Regions from separate parts of the Homo sapiens genome. Here regions 2 and 3 are each linked to region 1. Evidence: promoter capture Hi-C in 16 types of primary human blood cells and fetal thymus (Javierre and others, 2016). All regions are on one chromosome and are shown on one strand. The core of a region is centred on a gene start or on the middle of the fragment in contact, and the rest is flanking DNA. Distances in the headings are between cores, read along the strand shown. Region 1 holds the start of SDS (serine dehydratase). Region 2 overlaps RBM19 (RNA binding motif protein 19). Region 3 has its middle 17 kb from the start of DTX1.

What was found. The method cuts DNA at HindIII sites, captures the fragments that hold promoters and counts their contacts. A CHiCAGO score of 5 or more calls a contact.
Region 2: a contact is called between a fragment that was not itself captured here and the fragment with the promoter of SDS in region 1, in 1 of 17 cell types (M2 macrophages). The highest score is 5.8, in M2 macrophages.
Region 3: a fragment that was not itself captured here is called in contact with the fragment with the promoter of SDS in region 1 in 1 of 17 cell types (fetal thymus); the score reaches 5.7 in fetal thymus.

Annotation. Positions count from the first base shown.
Region 1 is chr12:113,402,082-113,405,522 of GRCh38, forward strand. SDS (serine dehydratase) reads right to left here and starts at 1,806. Exons shown (of 8, transcript NM_006843.3): 1 at 1,687-1,806. RefSeq lists an enhancer at 1-244. The HindIII fragment of the contact is 9,232 bases long and covers 1-1,961 here.
Region 2 is chr12:113,912,198-113,915,638 of GRCh38, forward strand. RBM19 (RNA binding motif protein 19) reads right to left here. Exons shown (of 24, transcript NM_016196.4): 21 at 2,772-2,888. Among named protein-coding and RNA genes, the nearest start is that of RBM19, 52 kb to the right of the region's middle. The HindIII fragment of the contact is 6,170 bases long and covers 1-3,441 here.
Region 3 is chr12:113,038,170-113,041,610 of GRCh38, forward strand. No RefSeq gene overlaps it. Among named protein-coding and RNA genes, the nearest start is that of DTX1, 17 kb to the right of the region's middle. The HindIII fragment of the contact is 1,387 bases long and covers 1,242-2,628 here.

The DNA of each region.
Region 1 (3,441 bases), core at 556-3,055:
CGCCAGACTTAGCATCCCCTAAATAGGTCACCCCTTGTCTATCTGAATTAACTGACATTCGGGGCCTGGGAGGGGAACTTGAACAGACACCCTCTCTCCGCTGGATCTCTCGAATAAAAATCAGAGACTGGGGCAAACTTCAAAACAGGACATCCCCAAATCGGCATGAACTTTCAGCTCCTGGAGGTTAATCCCCAAACAATGGGATCCCGGTTTTTATTTAGTTATTTTTAGAGAACCTCCCTCTGTCACCCAGGCTGGAGTGCAGCGGCATGATCTCGGCTCACTGCAACCTCCGCCTTCTGGGTTCAAGCGATTTTCCTGCCTCAGCCTCCCAAGTAGCTGGGATCACAGACGTGCACCACCACGCCCGAATAATTTTTGCATTTTTAGTGGAGACAAGGTTTCACCATATTGGGCAGGCTGGTCTCGAACTCCTGACCTCAAGTCATCTGCCTGCCTTGGCCTCCCAAAGTGCTGGGATTACAGGCGTGAGCCACCACACCGACTGACTTGACATTAAAGGCCGGTGTAGGTCACCAAGGCCTGGCCTCAGGGACAATCGGGGTGGGAGTCAGAGGAGCCGGCCACGAAGACCCTTTTCAGGTGGGTTTGGGGCGCCTCTCTCGCCGTTTGTCCCAGGCGGTGCCATGGGATGCCTTCAGGTAAAAGGACAGGGCTCCCTCTGCCGCGGCTTTCCGTGAAGTGAGCATCCATTAACTGCATCCAGCCTGCCCCAAGGATCCCTGCCCCAAGGATCGCAAGACTTCAGAAGAGGTTGTGCCCGGGGAGGAGGAGGGAGGGAGCCCTGAAGCCGCTGTCTGCCCACTCCGGCAGTCGGAAGCCACCTTCCCTTTCACTTGGTTCACAGTAAGTGCTCAGTCGATATGAACTATTATGAAATCTGGGCTGGACACCTTAAGTGCAGGTCATCCTTTCACCGTCACAACCACCTGAGGAGGAAGGCGCTATGCTCATCCCCATTCTACAGATGTGGAAGCTGAGGCACAGAACTGGACACAAACTCAGTGTTTAGGCCCAAATGGCTGTTTTTTAAAAATTTGAGACAAGGTCTTGCTGTGTCACCCAGGCTGGAGTGCAGGGGCGCAATAATTGCTCACTGCAGACTCGACCTCTTGGGCTCCAGCGATCCTCCCAACTCAGCCTTCCCAGTAGCTGGGACTACAGGTGTGCACCACCACACTATACTAATTAAATTCTTTTTTTAGGTCAGGAGTTCGAGACCAGCCTGGCCAACATGGTGAAACCCCATCTCTACTAAAAATACAAAAATTAGCCGGGCGTGGTGGCACACGCCTGTAGTCCAAGCTACTCGGGAGGCTGAGGCAGGAGAATCGCTTGAACCCAGGAGGTGGAGGTTGCAGTGAGCCCAGATTGTGCCATTGCACTTCAGCCTGGGTGACAGAGTGAGACCTCTGTCTTAAAAAAAAAAAATTTTTTTTGTAGAGATTGGGGGGGGTCTCACTCTGTTGCCCAGCTCAGTCTTGAACTTGTGGCCTCAAGCAACCCTCCCACCTCAGCCTTCCAAAGTGTTGGGATTACAGGCATCAGCCACCATGCCCAGCCTTGACAGACTCTTTCTATGTCTCCCTCTTCCCCTGGGAAACCACAGGCTAGCCCGGGACACTCCAGTCCTGAGGTGGGACTGAGGATGGGGCCACTTACCCGGCAAAGGTGATGGGTCTGAGCAGGAGTCAGAGCCAAGCCAGCGAGGGAGGGATCAACTGAGTAGATAGCCCACGAAGAGAGGGGGCTGAGGACGGGTGGACAGTCTTCTGAATGGTCCCAGGGGCTACTTGGTCCTGGGCTTTATTCCTCTGGCACCTCTGGGCAGCCAATGGGGCCCTGGGGCTGGCTACACCCCCCCCTCCCTCCTGCCAGGACCCACCCCCCTGGCTTGAGGCCACTGAGGCTGTCAGAAGGGAGGTGGAATCTGGCCAAGCTTTCTTCTTTGGCAGCTTCCTCCTGCCTTTCCCACAACCCACTCCTCCTCCCTCTTTCCACTTCCCCTTTCTGTCCTCAGTTTCGTGAAAGGAAAATAAAAAATTGGGACCCCCAACTCACTATGCCAAAAGAAAAAGAATTAAGCTAAAAGCTGAGTCATGTAAGAAACTGCCTTTCCTTTAGTTCCTAAGCAGATAGCTTCAGATGAAAGGTTAAATATTGGCTCCGCATTTTGGGAGGCCGAGGCGGGTGGATCACCTGAGGTCAGGAATTCGAAACCAGCCTGGCCAACATGGTGAAATCCCGTCTCTACTAAAAATACAAAAATCAGCCGGGTGTGGTGGCACGTGCCTGTAATCCTAGCTACTCAGGAGGCTGAGGCACAAGAATTGCTTGAACCTGGGAGGCAGAGGTTACAGTGAGACTAGATCTCGCCACTGCACTCCAGCCTTCACAACAGAAAGAAAAAAAAAAGTTAAATATCTCCACAGGTCGCTACTCTATGTTCACCTTATCTTATGTAAAGTGCCGATTTATTGAGATCAAGACAAATACATAATTGGCTACTTCCCTATCTGCCCCTCTTCTCTTACAAACTGTGGATTTGGTAATGTGGCCATAGCCTCCTTCTTTCCCCTCCAGCTTGCTTTTCTCCTTTAAATACTGACACCTAAAGTCATCTCTGGAGAAAAGCACAGACCTGTCTCCCAGGTGCATTCTTAACCCTGGCGAAATAAATTTCTAAATGGATTGAGTCCTGTCTCAATCTTTTTGATTCTTTTTGATTTACAGATTGGAGACTCATGAAAGGGACCCTGGGTGGAGGTGGCCCTGACCTTTGACAAGTCTCCTACTGGTGCTTGGTGGGTCTTGCTCTGTCACCCTGGCTGGAGTGCAATGGCATGATCTTGGCTCACTGCAACCTCCATCTCCTGGGTTCAAGCGATGCTCCTGTTTCAACCCCCCAAATAACTGGGAGTATAGGCATGTGCCACCACACTCAGCTAATTTTTTGTATTTTTAGTAGAGATGGGGTTTCACCATGTTAGCCAGGCTGGTCTTGAAGTCCTGACCTCAAGTGATCCACCCGCCTCAGTCTCCTAGAGTGCTGGGATTACAGGCGTGAGCCACCATGCCGGCCTTGAGCGATCTTGATTGCCCTCCAAAATAGGACAGTTTGCTGAGGCCTGGGAGCTCCCCACCTCCAGAGAACTCCTGATCTCCCACAATTGGTTGATATCTAAGCTTGATTTCCCTGAACAGCTCCTTTTCTGCGTTTTACTCACTTCCAACAAGGAAGGTGAGTTTTCTGGCTTCCATGATGATGGCAAGCAGGCAGCTCCTTTCTGGAGTTTCGCTTGTGTCCGGCAGGGAAGGCAAGTTTGAGATTTCCCCGCTTCTAGGATGGTAGAGAGCGGTCTTCAGCCTGGGCCCCATGACTAGAAGTTAGGGTTAACAACCAGCTGGTCTTAATTT
Region 2 (3,441 bases), core at 530-3,029, 510 kb after region 1:
GGCGGGGTAGCTTGAGGCCCTGCCCAGAGAATGCTCTCCGGAGCCCTGCACTCTCACCTGCACACCTGTCCCACTGGCTGTCCCTGTCAGTTTCCTCTCTGGTCCCCCACAGAGAGACCTGAGTCTCTCCTGAAATGGCTACATGCCTCGTGCCTAGCACAGTGCCTGGTATAAATGACACACTCGCTGTCATTTGGTCCCACTGGAATGATCTGGAGGAAGACAGTTCCTTCTAGACCCAAGAAAACAGGCAGCAGAGAGGAGTGGCTCCAAGCCGGGGCTCTGGGTTAGGCTGACTTAGATCCAAATCCCCATTCAGCGGCATGGTCCCAGGCAGGACACTCCATCTCCCTAGTTTCCATCTCCAGTTTCTGTCTGGGTGCAAAAGGAATGACAGCATCCATCCCTCGCAGGGCTGCTGTGCGGCTTAAAAGAGGTGATTCTGCACGGGAAGGCATTCAAGCTCAGAGCCCCGCACACAGCAAGCGTGTAATAAAAGGGAGTTGTGATTTTTACTACACCTGGTAGGAGAAACCCATAGAACCTGCCTGCCCAAATGGACCAGCTTGGTTCCCCGAAACCCTGAAACCTCCCCCTGGCTAATGACCTTTACCGGCCAGTGGCTTTGTCTGAAATCCTGTCTGGGGCTTCCCTGGACAATCTTGAAGTCCCTGAGAAGGCTCACAGCGACCCCTGCTGTCTGCAACGAGGAACTGCCTTACATCCCCAGCCGGAGTGAACAACAATAGCAGGTACGGCCCTCCAAGAAGGTCTTACGTTTCCAGGGTTTTAAGAAAACTCTCATCAGAACAATGGCAAGGAGAAGAGTCACCACATGTAATTATGTTCAGTGGACACTAATTCCCTGTCTTCTAAAAATAAATATAATACATGAGATCACACAAAGTGCTCTCTCTTCCCTTGTGGTCTTTTGTTTCCCCGGATAAGTGTCATCCTAAATATACTGCAGAACCAAGTGAAACTGTCATTTCAGCGGGATATTATTTCCCGATCAACATGCGCTCTTCTTAGCAAGCCCGTTTTAATCTGGCAGTTCTTAAGTTGGACTCCTTTTAAAAAGCAGAGCATGTTTAAACAAGCAGACATACCGAGAGGCTAAGGATATGTACCTTCCTGGAGGGACGACTGATCAGTCGAGGTTTAGGGAAATGGGAAACCTCCCCCCAGGTCATGACCCCATCTCGCCAGGCTATTCCTGCTGTGCAGGATACCCGGAGATCATAGCTAAGATCCTGCTTCCCAGATACTGGCAGGATTGGTCTCTGCCTCAGATCCCAGCTCACCACACACCACATCTGTTTATGAACTGAATACTAGTGTATGATTTAGAACAAACAGAGGGGAAAAGGAGGACAAAGATATCTGAAGTTCCCCACATGACTTCTTATTCTTCAAACTACAGAGTGAGAGCAAAGAAGGTAGATGCCACACAAAGATAATTGTTTCTCATCTCCAAAACACAAGGCTGATTTTGTAACCACAGATTACCTTGCAAGATGCTAACTGGCAACTCTAACAGAGGCTTCACTCTTGGACCCTTGTGCAAGTGTAGAATGAACGAACGAGACCTAGTGTCTAGAATCCTAAATGTTCACCCACGCGCAGGCCATGGTGCTGCAGGTCCCCCGAGCAGTCCTGGATCCCACCGAAGCCTCAACAATGTGTTTAGGTGAAGCTGACTTCATCTGCCTTTGCATTCTGAGAGCTAGATGGTCTCTCTATTACCCTGCCCATGCCTTGGGTGGGGGGGCCTTGGCTTCAAGCATTCCCCTTAGGCCCTGATATGAGGACGTTTCTTTCATTCATGGCTTGGTGCTGGGTGGTGCCTACCTAATCTGAAAAGCCAAACACTGTAACATGGCAGCGTAGGGATCACCAACTAGGGGCCCTGGGGCAGGCCAGACTTGTTTTGTTTTTAAAAAGTGAATTAGTTGCTGATGAATTCTCCTTAAGAATCCACATGGCTGGTTTCTCTTTCAAAACATGGGAACTGGTCTTACGAAGCCTGAGTTCCTGCATGGCATCCCAGCTGGATGACCAGAGAGAGGCCCGCCTGCTGCTCAGTCCCCACCCAGCCTGCTGCCGTTACCGGCTGGGTCCCTGCGACAGCTGCATTTTCCACCCCTGTGCAAGCAGGTGCTGACGGACTGCTTTATGTGTGCAGGTAATTCGCCTTCATTTCCATAGAGTCATTTAGGCCACTGGTCCCCAACCCCGGCTGGACATTAGGATCCCCTGGGGAGCTTTTAGCAAAACACCGATGTCTAGACCCCACTGTTGAAAAATGGAATCCAACTCTCTGGGGGTGCAGCCTCGGGAAAGGTGTATTTTAGCCATTGCCAGGTGGCTGGAATGTGTGGCTAAGGTGGAAAACCAGCACCTTAAACCAAAGGGGTAGCCTGGATGGAGGAAATTTCAAGCAGATCATGGGTAGGGCTGGGTTTTAGCCACTGGGGCCCCTGCCCCTCTTGCACGTTGTGGATGGGGACAGGGAAGCCTGCCTGCCCTTTCTCCATCTGCCTCGGAGAGGGGGAAGCCTGGCTGTTTTGACTTTTTTCCTGCACAGTGCTCTGGGGAGCCACATCTGAGATTAAGGGAGATAAATCAAAAGCAGCCAAAAGATGACCTTTGAAAGACCACTGTGCCGGCCTGCAACGGAACCATCCAGGACCCAAAGGCCATCTTCCCTGAGACTCGGGCAGGCTCCCCGCCCACACGCCAGTCCCCTGGACTAAACCTGAAGTTCTCACCTGAAGAGCTCTCGGATCTCCCGGCTGTGGGCCTGGAAGGGGATGTTCCGCACCAGGATCTTGGAGGTGGTCTGCTTTCTGGGAACTTGTTTCTTCCGAGCCAATGTCACGGCTGGCCTGGAGTGGTGGGGGGAGAGGGTCCAAGTTATTCGGAGCTTCAGCAGCTCCTGCCCAACATTGACTCCACTACGCCTCCATCAGAATATTCAGGTGATGGATTCAAGGAGTGTGCGTGGGGTGCGGGACCAACGTGAAAGGAGAGGAAGGCCGTCTCCCACCAGGTGATAGGACCCAAAACAGCTGCAGACGTCAGGGGGACACATCCGTGCTTGGGTGGCTGCTGACCTTCATTTGAGAGACTCCGGGGCCACCAGGGACTTAAGGAGCCCCGCTAAGGGTGGGGCTGGTTTCTCACCAAACCCAATCTCCATTGTGTCTTTCTCTCCAGTTGCAAAGAAAGACCCCAGTTGGTTTCCAAAGGTCTTGTGACACTTCATCAATAACCCGAGGAGGAACATGCGGGGGCCTAACCATGCAGATGGACCAGGTGGCGAGCAAGGACACTCTCAGCCCAGGTTCAAGGCCATCCCCAATGCAGTGCTACCTGGCCTGTCTCCCTGCTCTCCCAGGGAAACCTCCCACTCCACCAAAACAGGGTAGGGAAGTGAGC
Region 3 (3,441 bases), core at 685-3,184, 360 kb before region 1:
CAAGACCTGAGATAAGGGCCTCATAGCCCTGAATGCCTCCAAACTGCCCTCTAAGTTGAAGACCATTATTCACATTTTACAAATAGGGAAACTGAGGCCCAGGGAAGTTAAGTCCCTTGCCCAAAGAGCCTGCACAAACAAGCAGCCTGGCAGAATTCTACTCTGGGCCCCCTCAATCTCCAAATTCTCAGCTTTTAATTCTTTAACTCTATGGACTCCCAAAAACCTGGTTTTGGGTAGGACACCCTCTAGCTAAGATGTCACTTCGCACAGAGATAAGGTTATAATGGCCATGGGTAATCAAAAACAAAAATATTGACCAGGCACAGTGGCTCATGCCTGTAATCCCAGTACTTTAGGAGGCGGAGGCAAGCAGATCACTTGAGGCCAGGAGTTTGAGACCAACCTAGCCAACATGATGAAACCGTGTCACTACTAAAAATATAAAAATTAGCTGGGGGTGGTGGGGCACATTTGTAATCCCAGCTACTCAGGAGACTGAGGCAAGAGAATCACTTGAACCTGGGAGGTGGAGGTTGCAGTGAACCGAGATCGCACCACTGCACTCCAGCCTGGGTGACAGAGTGATTCTGTCTCAAAAAAAAGAAGGGAAAGAAAGAAAGAAAGAAAGAAAGAAAGAAAGAAAGAAAGAAAGAAAGAAAGAAAGAGAGAGAGAGAGAGAGAGAGAGAAAGAAAGAAAGAAAGAAAGAAAGAAAGAAAGAAAGAAAGAAAGAAAGAGAAAGAAAGAGAGAGAGAGAAAGAGAGAGAAAGAAAGAAAGAAAGAAAGAGAAAGAAAGAAAGAAGGGAGGGAGGGAGGGAGGAAAGAAAGAAAGAAAGAAAGAAAGAAAGAAAGAAAGAAAGAAAGGAGAAAGAAAGAAAGAGCTGTTCTCCCTTGAATGATAAGAAGCCCCCAAAGTCTTCCCACTGAGCCCTGAAGCCGGGGTGCAGCCCCCCCACCCAGGCTGGGTGCCTCCCATTGCAGTCATGCTGATTTAAGACCCAGAGAAAGACCCTCACCAACGGGGGTTACTTTCAGGACTGCCATAACAAAATACATAGACTGGGTGGCTTAGAAACTACAGAAATGTGGTGCTCATAGTTCCAGAGACTGGCAAATACAAGATCAAGGCGTCTGCAGATTTGGTGTCTGATGAAGGCCTTCTTCCTGGTTCATAGGTAGCTGCCTGGTTCATAGGTAGCTGCCTTCTCTCTGTGTCTTCATATGGCTGAAGGGGTAAGGAAGCTTTCCAGGGATCCTTTTATAAGGGCACTAATCCCATTCATGAAGTCCCCACCTGCATGACTTAATCACCTTCTCACATCACCTCCTCACACCATCACACTGTGGGTTAGGAGTTCAATGTATGAATTTAGGGGTTGAGGAGACATAGACATTCAGTCCACTGCACCAGTGCTGCCCAAAGCCTGGCAGATCTCAGCAAGACTCCTCAGCTGCAGGTTGTTAGGGGCACCCCTCTTGAGCTACAATTAATTCAGGCTGTGTTAAAATAACCTGGGCTAGGTGGCTCACCCCTGTAATCCCAGCACTTTGGGAGGCTGAGGCTGGTGGATCACCTGAGGTCAGGAGTTCAAGACCAGCCTGGCCAATATGGCGAAACCCCATCTCTACTAAAAATACAAAAATTAGCCGAGTGTGATGGTGCACGCCTTTAATCCCAGCTACTTGGGAGGCTGAGGCAGGAGAATGGCTTGGACTCAGGAGGCAGAGACTGCAGTGAGCTGAGATTGCGCCACTGCACTCTGGCCTGGGCAACAGAGTGGGACTCCATCTCAAAAAATAAAATAAAATGAAGATCCCAGTCTAATTACTGTAATACTTCAAAGCAGTGATGAGTAAAAGCAATATATTTTGAGACAGCACCAACAAGTGAAATGTAATAGGAAACTATAGGATTCTATTCATGACACAGTCAGACGCTACTCACACCATTGTGGTTTGTTGCCTATGTTCATAGTAGAAGGAAATGCTGTCTTTCAATTCACAGTTAATGAGAATAAAGATATCACTTTCCCCATCCAAGTTCAAAGGAGTCTGTGATCCCCAGGCTGAGAACCCCAGCCAAGAGATTCTTCGCTATCTTCTAGGCTAGGGTTTTGGGATCTGAATGTGTCAGGGTAATGTCTCCTGGGTCCGCCAAATCCTCAATGAATCACCCAGTTCTACCCCCATCCTTCTTTCTCAAGGGTCATCTCCCATCTCAAGATAATCCAGATACAGCCCTTCTACTCTCTGCATCTATGAATTTGACTCTTAGATTTCGCTTACTAGTGAGATCCTGCAGTGTTTTTCTTTTTGTGTTTGGCTTATTTCACTTAGCATAATGTCCTCCAAGTTCATCAAGGTTGTTGTAAATGGCAGAGTTTCCCTTTTTGGAAGGCTGAATAATCTTTGTGTATATACCACGGTTTCGTTATCCATCGTCTGCCATGAACACCTGGGTTGTTTCCGTATCTTGGTTATTGTGAATAATGATGGAATGAGCATTGGAGTGCAGCTGTCTCTAGATATCCAGATTTAGTTTCTCACCCTGAATGTTGAAACCTTAATCTCCTGCAGGGTTTATCCCAGGACCACACCCAGGATTGTCCTAGGCAAGTTCCTGTTCAAGCTTCGAGTTAGTCATCACTTCCTCCCTGAGGCCTCCCTGACTCCATGGTTTGCATTAGTGATTCCTCTGTCCCAGGCTCCACCTCCCCAACCCAGCACTGACCACCTCATCCCTGCCTCCACTGACCTAGTTCCTGGGCTGGAACTGGAGTGAGACTGACATGTGACTTTGGGAGTTAAGGCAATGGAGAGCTGGTGTTGTGAAATGGAGCAGCCCCACCGCTCTCTTGCCCTGCCACAGTGACCCCGAGGCCACGTGCTCTCTCTGGGGAAGGGCTGCCCTCCTCCTTAGAAGAGCGAGAAGCAAGCCTTGATTGTGTTTCGCCACTGCAAGTCCAGGGTTTGTCTGTTGTGGCAGCTGGCATTAAACGCCCTGGCACACTCAGACCTCAAAGCCCAAGCCTAGAAGACAGTGAAGCAACCTGGTAGATGGTAAATGATGAAATATTCTGCTTTTAATAATTTTTTTTGAGACAGAGTCTGGCTCTGTCACCCGGCTAGAGTGTAGTGGTGAGATCTCGGCTCACTGCAACCTCCACCCCCCCCGGGCTCAAGCAATTCTCATGCCTCAGCCTCCCAAGTAGCTGGGACTACAGACGTGCACCACCACACCTGGCTAATTTTTTTATTTTTAGTAAAGACTGGGTTTCACCATGTTGCTCAGGCTGGTCTCGAACTCCTGACCTCAAGTGATCCACCCACCTTGGCCTCCCAAAGTGCTGGGATTACAGGAGTAAGCCACAGCACGCGGCCAATAATGTTTTTGTTTAATTTTTTTTAAGCTAGCTAACATTAACTGAGGTCATTCTGAA